Regions from separate parts of the Homo sapiens genome. Here all the other regions are linked to region 1. The links are contacts of gene promoters, found by promoter capture Hi-C in human tissues and cell types (Jung and others, 2019). All regions are on one chromosome and are shown on one strand. The core of a region is centred on a gene start or on the middle of the fragment in contact, and the rest is flanking DNA. Distances in the headings are between cores, read along the strand shown.

Region 1 (2,688 bases), core at 110-2,609:
CCTTCGGGAAGGCCCTCTCTCCCTCCCTGGCCCTCTACTGGAGCGGGATCCGGCAGCTCGCCAGCAGGTCTGCAGTGAGGAGGGATCGCACTCGCGTTAACCCTTTGAAGGGAGTTGGGAGATCTGTTCTCACTTGGGACCCGCTAAAGTGGGGCCAGTGGAGCCTGACAATCTCCCTCCCGTTCCTACACGCCCCCACCCCCCCAGAACCAGAGCAGGCTGGCACCTTCTTCCCCGCTGGTGGCCAGTTTTAATCAGCTCTCACTCTGCCCCAAACCTGGGATGGGGGAGGGGGCTTGCTAGAAAACAGGCGGCGAGGGAAAAAGACAGCAGGAGGGCAGAAGGGAAACTCAGTAGTAAATCATAGTTGAGACACAGTGTTTACTTACGAAATTTGGGGCTGGTGCTAGTTTCTGGTGTGGTGGTGGTAGCGGAGGAGGAAGAAGAGGAAGAAGAGGAGGCAGCATCCTGAAAGGGAGACAGGGTCCAGGAGGGAGTAGAATCGTGAAGGTAGGAGGAGGTAGCGTATGCCGCAGTAGGCCAGGAGGGCATTGCCTGGGTACTTGGAGTTCCTGGCACCGGGGGTCGGGAGCCCAGCGTGCTGCTACTGAAGAACGGGGCCGTGGTGGACGGGACCGTCGCAGGGGCCGCAGTGTTCCGTGCTGTGGTGGAGCGCGGGCTGGCCCGGATGGGCACCCGGTGCCCGGGGAAGCGAGTGGGCGCCCGCGTGATGGTGGTCAGGCGAGTGCTAATCCGGTTGGGCGTCCTGGAGGAGGCGGCACCCCCGGCGGAGGGGGTGGCGGGGGACGTGGTGGAAGTGGTAGTGGTGGTGGTCTCCATGGCCTTGGGGAAAGAGCTGGGCTTGGAGAGGAAGAAGGGGTCCTGGCCCATCCCCTTGGAGTCCACTAGGTCGGTGGGCACGTACTCCTTGACGGAGCCCACCACGATCCATTTGAGAAGCATGAGGCTGAGCCCCAGGCCGATGAAGCCGATGAACAGAGGTACCACGCACAGCCACGTCTGCTGCCGGTTCCACACGATGCAGTCGCTACAGCGTAACTCCCGGGGGGGCTCGGCCGCCCCTTCGCCGCCGCCGTCCGGGCCCCCGCCCGCCGCTGCCGCCGCCGCAGCCGCCGCGGTGCCCTCCTCGGCCGAGGCGGCGGCTGCCGAAGCGGCACCAGGTGGCGAGGCAGCGGCCGCCCCTTCACTCATCCTAGGAGCCGGTCTTCACCTTCGCCCCCCCGAGGGCCGCGGCAGAGGCATGGGGCCGCGCGGGCCGGGCGCGGGCGCGGGCGCGGGCTCCGGCGGCGGCGGCGGGCTCGGGCGCAGGCAGCGGCCGCGGCGGCCGCATGCAAATCCGCTCCCTGCCCCCACGCCCCTCCCCCCGAGAGGCGGGCGGCGGGCGGGGAGGAGAGGAGCGGGGGAGGGGACGGGGCCGGGGAGGGGGCGGTAAGGAGCTCGGAAGAGGGGCGAGACGGGCCCCCGGCGCCTCCGGTCGGTCAGAGAGCGGCGGGGCGCGTCTGCAGCCCTCCAAGCCGCCTCCTGCGCGCCGGGTCCCCGCGCCCGCTGCTGCTGCTGCTGCCCGCCGCCTGCGTGCGCTCCAGGAGCGCCGACATCCTCGGGGCACCGCGCCCAGCCCGCTCCCTGGGGCGCCCGCTCGCGCCGCGCCTGGGCCTCGCGCCGCCTTCAGTGGCCCCGGCGGCCGGTCGCGGGGTGCCGGGTGCCCGCCACCCGCATTCCGACACAGAGGGCCTGCCTGGCCGCCGCGATCTTCGGCGGCTGCTCCGCGAGCCCGGGCGGTGAGGTGCACCTGTTCTTCAGCCGGCCCGCAGCCAACCCTCGGCCAGCACTCTTCTGGAGAGACCAATCCCAGCGCAGCGCGGAGGGCTAGCGGCCCGGCTCGCCTTGCTCCAGCCGTTCGCTGCTGCGCGCCGCTGCCGCCGCCGCCGGAGAGTCAAACTCCAGCGAACAGCGCCGCTGTCGCCGCCGCGAGCCAGGGGCTGGGGGCGCACCGGGCGCCCGCGGCGGGTGCGGTCTGACCCGCCTCCGAGGGACCCAACAAGCAGGCAGAGGATCGGAAATCACGCCCCGGCGCCCTGCCCGGTTGAGCGTGGGGGACGGAAGCGGGAGACTGCGTCGGGGGTCCCGGGGAACGCAGACCCCGGGCTGAGGGCGTCTCCAGACGGGCTCTGGCTGCCAGGCTGGTGCGTGTGTGTGTGCAGAATCGCCGCGGCGGGCTGGGATTCGGGCAGAGTAGCGCCTCCCACTAGCAGCTAATGCTGGTTTCTTAATGCACACAAGATAGATAAATGATCCAAGCAAACCCCCGTTTGCGGTGGGGTGGGGGGGCAAAAGCAGCTTCCGACCGATTGTGAGTCGTCTCCTGTACGGATCCAGTGGGGTCAGAGACTGACGCTGCTGGGCGAGGGGGCGGGGGCGGATGCGGGTGGGAGGGTGCCTGTGCCCTCCCCTGCCGGATGGCGGTGCGGCTGGATGGAAGGCCACCTTTGCCTGAGTTCCTGAGAGATGCAGGTGGAGCAGAAGACCTTTGTATAATCAGACCTGTCAGATATCTCCAAGCCATTTATGTGAACTTGCCTTAAAATATTGTCTTTACCTGTAAATGTACGCACAGGTACACACGTTACAAGGCAAGTGTTTGTGAGAGGTAAATATGAAAGGATTTGG
Region 2 (2,688 bases), core at 111-2,610, 61 kb before region 1:
CAGTCAACACAGTGAAAGGCAACCTAGAGGATGAGAGAAGATATTTGCAAATCATATATCTAATAAAGGGTTAATATCCAGAACATATAAAGAACTCCTACAACTCAACAACAACAAAATAACTCCATAAAAAATGTGCAAACAACTTGAATAAATACCTTTCCAAAGAAGATATCCAAATGGCCCACAAGCATATTAAAAGATTATCAACATCACTAATCTTTAGAGAAATGCAAATCAAAACCACAATGAGATATCATGGCCATTATTAAAAATAATAATAATAATAAATGTTGGTAAGAATGTGGAGAAATTGGAACCCTTGTGCACTGTTGTGAATGTAAAATGGTGTAGCTGCTATGGAAACATACGGAGGTTCTTCAAAAAAAATAAATAAATTACCCATATCCTCTAGCTATCCCATTCCTGAGTATATATTCAAAAGAACTGAAAACAGGACCTCAAGGAGACATTTGCACACCCATGTTCACTGCAGCATTACTCACAATAGCCAAGAGGTGGAAGCAACCTAAATGTCCATCCGTGGATGAATGGTTAAAGAACACGTTTTCTATGCATACAATAGAATTCGTTCAGCCTTAAAAAAGAAGAAAATCCTGTTATATGCTACAACATGGATGAACCTTGAGGACATTATGTGAAGCGAAATAAGCCAGCCACAGAAAGACAAATGTTTCACGATTTCATGTTTGTGAGTTATCTAAAGTAGTCTAACTTTTCAAAGGGAACTGAGGTTCAGTTCTGCAAAAGATGGAAAAGTTGTAGAGATCTGTTGCACAACAATGTGCATAGAGTCAACATTAGTGTACTGTACACATGACATGATGATTAATTTTTTATGTGTTTTTTATAATAATTTTTTAAACACAATTTACACATGGCTTCCCCTCCCCTCATCTTTTGGACCCTACCCTCATGCTGCCTAGAACAGATGTGGAGGGTAAAGCACTAATCACCATTTTGGACCATGACAGCAAGGCCCATACCCTGACTATAGCAGGGTGGTGAGTTAGAAAGAGCTTCGGCCCCAACCACCTTACGGAGCAAAACCAAAATAATATCCCTAATCAACCAACTAATACAAACTGTAGCTGACACAGGGTCTCTCTCACATGTTCTCTTGTGAGCCATCTGTGGTTCTCCCACTCACTTCTGTACACACAACCATCCTCACTTACACTGTCTACTTCCTGACCCCTTTCCTGCTTCCCTCCCATCCATCTTTCACAGTTATCAGAATACAGTCATAAAACACCAAGCTGATCATGCTTAGTAACCTACAGAGACTCCTTCAAAACCTAATTCTAAGCTACCTCTCCAGACCCACCTCATTTCAGTTTCCCTTATGCAACTGTTGGGAATAGAACTCCAATCACAGTTTGGTTCACTGTTTCTTGAATGTTCCATACTCTTTTCAAACTCAGAGATTTTATCCAAGTTACTCCGAGTGAAATTCTCCTTTCTTATATTTCTCCCCAGCCTCTTCTCAATCTTTTGACATATATTAACATGTCAGTTCTCATTTCAGTTTTTTCCCCAGGTCCCAGGTATAATTATTCACTTTCTCCACTGTTCCCTCTATTCCATAGGCACATAACACAAGGAAGTATAATAGATCTCCTTCTATCATGTCTGCCCACTTACATGGTGAACACAGGCAGGACCATAACTGAAACACGCCACTGCTGTGCAATTGGGGACATAACACTGGGTAAGACAAACCAGTTCCTTCCCCCCAGAGAGCTGACATTTTAACCATTTTAACACAGGAAACTGTGTGTGTGTGTGTGTGTGTGTGTGTGTGTGTGTGTGTGTGTGTGTGTTCAGGCACTGAAAAGTATAATGAAAAAAAGCTGGGTAAATTGAGAAGCTGGACAGTGAAAGTGACTCCAAGGAGGAACAAAGGGTTGTGTAACAAAGGGTTATACAGGTTGGTCAGGAAGGCTCCTCAGAGGAGGTGGTCCTGAAGCAGGGATATGAATACTGTGGGAGAAGTCTCAGAGAGAGTGGCCCATGCAACAGAAACAGAAAGTGCTCAATCCTTCTGTCAAATAGGCATCAAGAAGAACAACAAAGGTGGGGAGGGGGTGATGTTATCCACAGTTTCTTTGTTGTTGTTGTTGTTGTTGTTCCCTGAAATAGGTCACAGATGACAAATGGGCTACTTTAGCCACTATAACAAAGTATGGCAATTAAATCCACCTAAGTATAACCTGACTCTAAAGTTTCTCAGCTACTAAAACCTATCTTTTCCTTACTTACCTTTCATCCTTATACAATAAATGCATTTTGCAAACTAAAAACAAAAATCGTCATCTGGTGCTTCTGATGTTGCTTAGGAAATTACTCATCACAAATTATTCATATAATGACAGAACTCCATTGAGTTATTTTTTCCCCAAAATGACATATTAATACCTAAGGACACATGAATATCTTGCCAAACAAACTCATATTTGCAGATAATTATACTTAGTGCCAAATAGGCTAAAGCTCTCTAAAGAACAACATAAAAAAGCGAATTCCATATTTATCTGGAAAATTGTTCCTCTACACTTTAAACCAAAGGGTACTAGGAAATTTCAATAGCAGTCTCTGGGAATCTTTTCCTTTACCAAATTCCAAAGCTTTAATCCATGAATAAAATAACACAATGTAATAAACAGC
Region 3 (2,688 bases), core at 61-2,560, 44 kb before region 1:
TCACTTTCATATTAGGTTATGAGAAAAACATTAGAAGAAACATATATAAAAATGAACAAAGGAATCCTGTTCTGTTCTATACAATTAATTTCTGTTCAGATTGTAAAAAATGTTACTGAAGTAGATGTATAACAAGGAAAAATGTTCACAAAACATTAAGTGAATAAGATGAATTAGAAAAATGTGAGCCCATGTTTTGTGAAATAAGATGTGTACTTACTGACGTGTACTACTATTCATAATATTATAAATTTGGAAGTATATCTAAAAATAAGCAAAAGCATTAGCTTTCTGGGGTTGGCATAATTACAGATTATTTGAATTTGATTTTGTTTAAACCTATATCAAAATTTTCCAAATTGAATATCCATATGCTATTTGGGAAGAAAAGCTTGAAAAGTTCACAACAAATTGATGTCATAAAGTATCATTTTTTTTTTAGACATGGATAGTCATGCTTATTAAACCTGAGTGGGCTGTGATCAATGCTTAGAAGGAAGGAGACTAGAGGGAGGCCCCCTAGTGGTGGGGGCTAAGATTAGGGGTGCCTGGGCAGCAAAGCACCAGGAATCGATGCCACAGATTCTTCAAAACTCCAATCAAATAGAGTGAGGAACCCTTCGAATTTTCTTTTTGGTTGCAGGGTGCTAAGGGTGAGGAGCATTGACTTTAAGATTTCCTGTCCTGCCAAGCAGGTGGCAGGTGCTTCAGTTGATCCAGCAAGATCTCATCTCTTTTCCAGCCCTCCTTTTCCCAGCGTGCTCCCTGCACACTTCTTCAAAAGTGAAGTCAAGGCTCCCTTTCTCATAGTGTCATCCTTACACCTCAGGCCATAAGACAGCTGTGTCCACTGAACTCCAGCAGAATTCTTTCCATCATCATCTGGTACTTGATATTCATTCTGCCTTGAGGCACGTCTTATAAAGTTATTTTTATTGTTATTTAATTTTTCGTATATTAGTGTATCTGTCAGATGTGGCTAGCAGTAGCGGGGAAGAACAAAATCAAGAAAGAAAACTTCAAATAAGGCCTTGCCAAGAATAAAACACAATTGACGGCAGGTTTCCTGGTTGGCTGCACTCACCCCTCATTGCCACTGTTTCTGCTCAGCTCTGCTTGTGTAATTGCCCCTCAGACCAACTTCTGAGGTGATACCTCTGGACATTCATGGGTGTCTCATTTTGTCGAGTGCCTTAGTGCTTCATTTGCCTTGGTTTTGGTGTCCCAAAATCTCCTCAATATCTAATCTCAGTTTCCCTCAATAATTTTTGGGGGAACCTGTCATTTGCCATGTCCATGTTGGCAATGAAATTGATACTTAATAAGAATTCCACCCCATCTTTAATACAAACACACAATCTTTTTATCCCTTACTAGACTATAAATTCTTTGAAGCAATGGATTATATTTGATGATGATGATGATGATGAAGTTAATGAAAATAACACCCCAGGCAATGTTATTTATGAGTTCATAATACATGCTGTAATCTCTGCACGCTGCTACCAATCCTGACACAACTTCAAAATAAGTATTACCATTCTGCCATCACAGATTAGGGAGGAGACGTTCAAAGAGGTTTAAGAGGCAGATCAGATCAAGTGTCGACGCTCGGTTTTGAAGCAATGTCCATCTGATTTTCAGCGCTGCCACACTTATATCCTATTCTTATATATTCTTATATCCTATCCTAACTCAGCACTTCTTTTCAGCCCTGGGGCCCATGCCATCCCTTCAAGTGCTCTATCCCCTAGTCCCATACATATGAAGTTCTAGGCTAAGCCTTTTCCATACAAACTCTCAGTTAATTCCAACAAGAATTCAACAGATGGGTTACTGAATTTAAAAATATTTATTACATTTACTTCCCCCAAACACAATGGAAACAGGAGGGCTATATAGTATAATTGAACCAAAGCTGTGTGTGTGTGTGTGTGTATGTATGTGTGTGTGTGTGTGTGTGTTTTGTTATGATGCAATAGTAGTTAATGATTTGAAATAAATAAATAAATAAGCAATGTGTTGTTAAACACCAGATGTATTTCAAAACTCGTTTGACAGAAAATTGCAATGATTCTATTCAATGCTTATGGCCAGTTTTGTGTTTGTTTTTGTTTTTTGCAAAAATCCTAGTAGTATGAACAAAGTCAAGGAAACCAGTTGCAGCAGGTAAAATACAGAGAAAAAATTAACAGCATTTCATTAGTAAAATAAAATAATACAGCTCTCTATCAGCAAGTCCTCATTTGCCTAAAGCATCTTCTTTTGACTGAATTTAAAATAATTTTCCAATAATATCAAAGAAAAGAGGTGCATGCTACACATGCAAATAAGGCATTAATTAAAATGGCTTCCCTTTATGCTTCATTACTAACTGCTAAACAGAGCATATAAAATATCATTTATAAATAGAAAAATCCAGAACACAGGGTAATAGGGAAATAAATGGCCTTGTATTTCTTTTGTACGTGATAAAAAGCAGATGATGGAGTACCTGATCTGAGAAATCCAAAATGTTGTCACAGATTTATACTTGTGTTTACTCTGCCCATATAACAGAGAGATATCCCAAATGGCCAATATCATATGTGAATTCAAGCCTGAGTCAGAGGACTGCAGTTCTTTAAATCAATTCACTGGGAAACTAGTCCTTGACCTATAAAGAAACATTCCAAATACAACAAATGC
Region 4 (2,688 bases), core at 72-2,571, 41 kb after region 1:
TACACAGACACGTAAACACTCTTCAAACACACCACAGACAGATGCACATCACACTTTCCTGTTCTTGGGTTTTCCATCAATAGTTTAAAAATAACGATTATGACAGTGATAGTAATAGCAGCAGCTGCTACACTCCCTTAGTCACAGAGACATTAGAGGGATAAGGAGACAATATCTGAATGTGTCTTTTCCAGGCTCTGCCACATTTGCCAGCAGGATTTGCATTCGTGATTGGGACTGTTTCACAGGCAATTTATTTCCCATTAAAATCATTCCCACAAGTCCATTCCAAATATCAGTACAGCTTTCTTTTGGCAAATACATCACAACTGTTAACATTTTGATAGAAAATTAATACTTACAAGGTGCTTTCATAAACATTATCTCATTTAAGCCTCACAAGAACCTTACAGCAAAGAACGTTCAGAGAGCTTAACAATACTTGTAGCAAAGCTTGCAAAGTTACCTGTCAGGTGTTGGAATTAAGACTTGAATTTATATCCGTATGATCTCTAATCTCTTTCATACCCCCACACAAAGATGCTTTTTGAGAACCCTTGCCTGGGAGACAGTAAGCCTGAATGGAAAATTCAGGTTTTACCACTTCTGACACCTCTCAGTACCTGCTTCCTGTCTGGAAATGGTCAAAATAAGCCCCCTCTCACAGAATCAATGTTAAATGTGATAGTGTGGATAAACCATTCTACAAACTTGCAAGCATTTAACAGAGGTTTGTCACACAAATATGACATGTAAGTGTAATGTTTTACAGAAATTTCAAACTGATTTCCATACTGTCAGAATGATAGCTATTGTATGATTGTTGCTTTCAACAGTTCGAGTCACCATTTTGAAGAGTGTGCCTAATAAAAATGTAGACAAGTTGTAGCCATTGGTAAATGTTGTATAAGAACTGACTTTATTTTTCAGTTTGGGAAGACTTTTCCTGCATCCCTTTACTCATTTTAATTTCTTCTTCACACTTTTGCAGATGAAGAAAAGCCAATAAAATAACAGCATTGGGCCTGATGGTGTGGCTCATTCCTGTAATCCCAGCATTTTGGGAGGCTGAGGAGGGCAGATCATTTGAGGCCAGGAGTTGAGATCAGTTGAGACCAGCCTGGCCAACATAGCAAAATTCGGTCTCTACTCAAAGTACAAAAAATTAGCCTAGTGTGGTAGTGCATCCCTGTAATCCCAGCTACTTGGGGCTGAGGGACTAGAATCACTTGAATGCGGGAACTGGAGGTTGCAGAGAGCCAAGATCACGCCACTGCACACTGCACTCCTGCGTGACAGAGCAAGACTCTGTCTCCAAAAACAACAACAATGACAAACGAACAAACAAAAAAAACAGCGTTGATTTTGCCTCCTTAGAAAGGACTATTTGCTAAATGTGTGATGTGTATAAAGGTGCATAGTTCAGATAAGTGATTAGTGCTATTCTATGTTTCCTTGATGTTTCGCCCAAGCTTAGTAAGGCTTTTTATCCATTAAAGCTTCATTTTCATTTTGTAGACATGAGTATAAAACATGTAAACATATAATGAATACATTATTTTAAAATTAAAAACTGTTACAACATATTTTATATTATAATTATTGTTACTATTTCAAAGATTGCTTCATGGTTTGATAGCCTTTCTTGCGAACCTCAGGTTTAAAACAAAAATTGCCATGAATGTTCTTCTGTGACATTCTTTGATTAATTAATTCAGAGAGCTTTATTTACTGAAAAAAAATCTGATCATCAACTAAGTGGCTCAATAGTTTTGGTCAAGTAGCTCATCTAGAGTACAGCATTTATAGTAAATAAAGTAAAAACATTTTTTAAAAGTGCTTTGCAATCCTCAAAGCACTTTTATTACACACATATATAGACACAAAATACACATATCAGGGAAAAATTATAAAATATCACACTATGAATATTGGCTAGCTGTATGCCTTAGGTGGCAGCACCATTCATAAAGTGCCTAGGATTTGTCTGTTGTACATCTTGCTTCCTAAATCACAGTAAATGAGGCAAAACCTTAAATAACACTCACTGATCCACTAATCCCATTAAAGTTTTTAAGGCAGGATTTCAAGATCTATTGCAATAACAAACATCAGTTACAGCTAACCGGATATTGCTGAGTGAAAAAAAAATGTGTTTGCCATTCACTTTTCCAGGTCTTTCTTTTTCTTTAAAAAATCAATTTATCTTCTTCTAGTATAATCCATTCTACGGAATTAGATTGAATTAGTTTCAAGCAGATTACAGCGTCAGCAGAAGAGTTAGCAGAAAGTAAGTTAGTGCACATCCCAACATGTCCTTAAAACTGATTTCTTTAATAACTACTGCTGAAAATGTAATGAATTATATAGCATAATAAGGAAAAAAGCAATAGTTTTAAATAAATTCAACAATGAAAAAGGGTGTCTTAAAAAGAACTATCTTGCTTTCTTTCTGCTGAAAGGCTGAAAGCTCCTCTAATTTCATAAACATTTTCCTGCAATTCTCATACTGTTTGGAGCTACCATCATTACCATCTCATTTTTCTTTTACCCCAGGACTTCCGAATTGGGAGATCTTGCTGGCTGTCCTTGCATACTCGGAGCTTTCCTATTCTCCATTCCTTTGGAATCTAGCTTCCACTCTCTCTCATTAAAATCACTAGCTCTTTACTTGGCCACAAAAGCCCC

Evidence for each region. The method cuts DNA at HindIII sites, captures the fragments that hold promoters and counts their contacts. A contact is called where the count stands out against the background at its distance.
Region 2: a fragment that was not itself captured here is called in contact with the fragment with the promoter of NRG3 in region 1 in 2 of the 25 tissues and cell types used here (hippocampus and neural progenitor cells).
Region 3: a contact is called between a fragment that was not itself captured here and the fragment with the promoter of NRG3 in region 1, in 3 of the 25 tissues and cell types used here (adrenal gland, hippocampus and small bowel).
Region 4: a fragment that was not itself captured here is called in contact with the fragment with the promoter of NRG3 in region 1 in 2 of the 25 tissues and cell types used here (hippocampus and liver).

What each region holds. Positions count from the first base shown.
Region 1 is chr10:81,873,865-81,876,552 of GRCh38, reverse strand. NRG3 (neuregulin 3) reads right to left here and starts at 1,359. Exons shown (of 9, transcript NM_001010848.4): 1 at 390-1,359. The coding sequence starts at 1,212. It overlaps LOC124902549 (a long non-coding RNA gene), which reads left to right and starts at 2,035. Exons shown (of 2, transcript XR_007062377.1): 1 at 2,035-2,204. RefSeq lists an enhancer at 1-410. The HindIII fragment of the contact is 10,350 bases long and covers 1-2,688 here.
Region 2 is chr10:81,935,033-81,937,720 of GRCh38, reverse strand. The region is part of intron 1 of NRG3 (neuregulin 3); the gene reads right to left. Among named protein-coding and RNA genes, the nearest start is that of NRG3, 61 kb to the right of the region's middle. The HindIII fragment of the contact is 3,968 bases long and covers 1-2,688 here.
Region 3 is chr10:81,918,251-81,920,938 of GRCh38, reverse strand. The region is part of intron 1 of NRG3 (neuregulin 3); the gene reads right to left. Among named protein-coding and RNA genes, the nearest start is that of NRG3, 44 kb to the right of the region's middle. The HindIII fragment of the contact is 6,280 bases long and covers 1-2,688 here.
Region 4 is chr10:81,832,563-81,835,250 of GRCh38, reverse strand. No RefSeq gene overlaps it. Among named protein-coding and RNA genes, the nearest start is that of NRG3, 41 kb to the left of the region's middle. The HindIII fragment of the contact is 5,275 bases long and covers 1-2,688 here.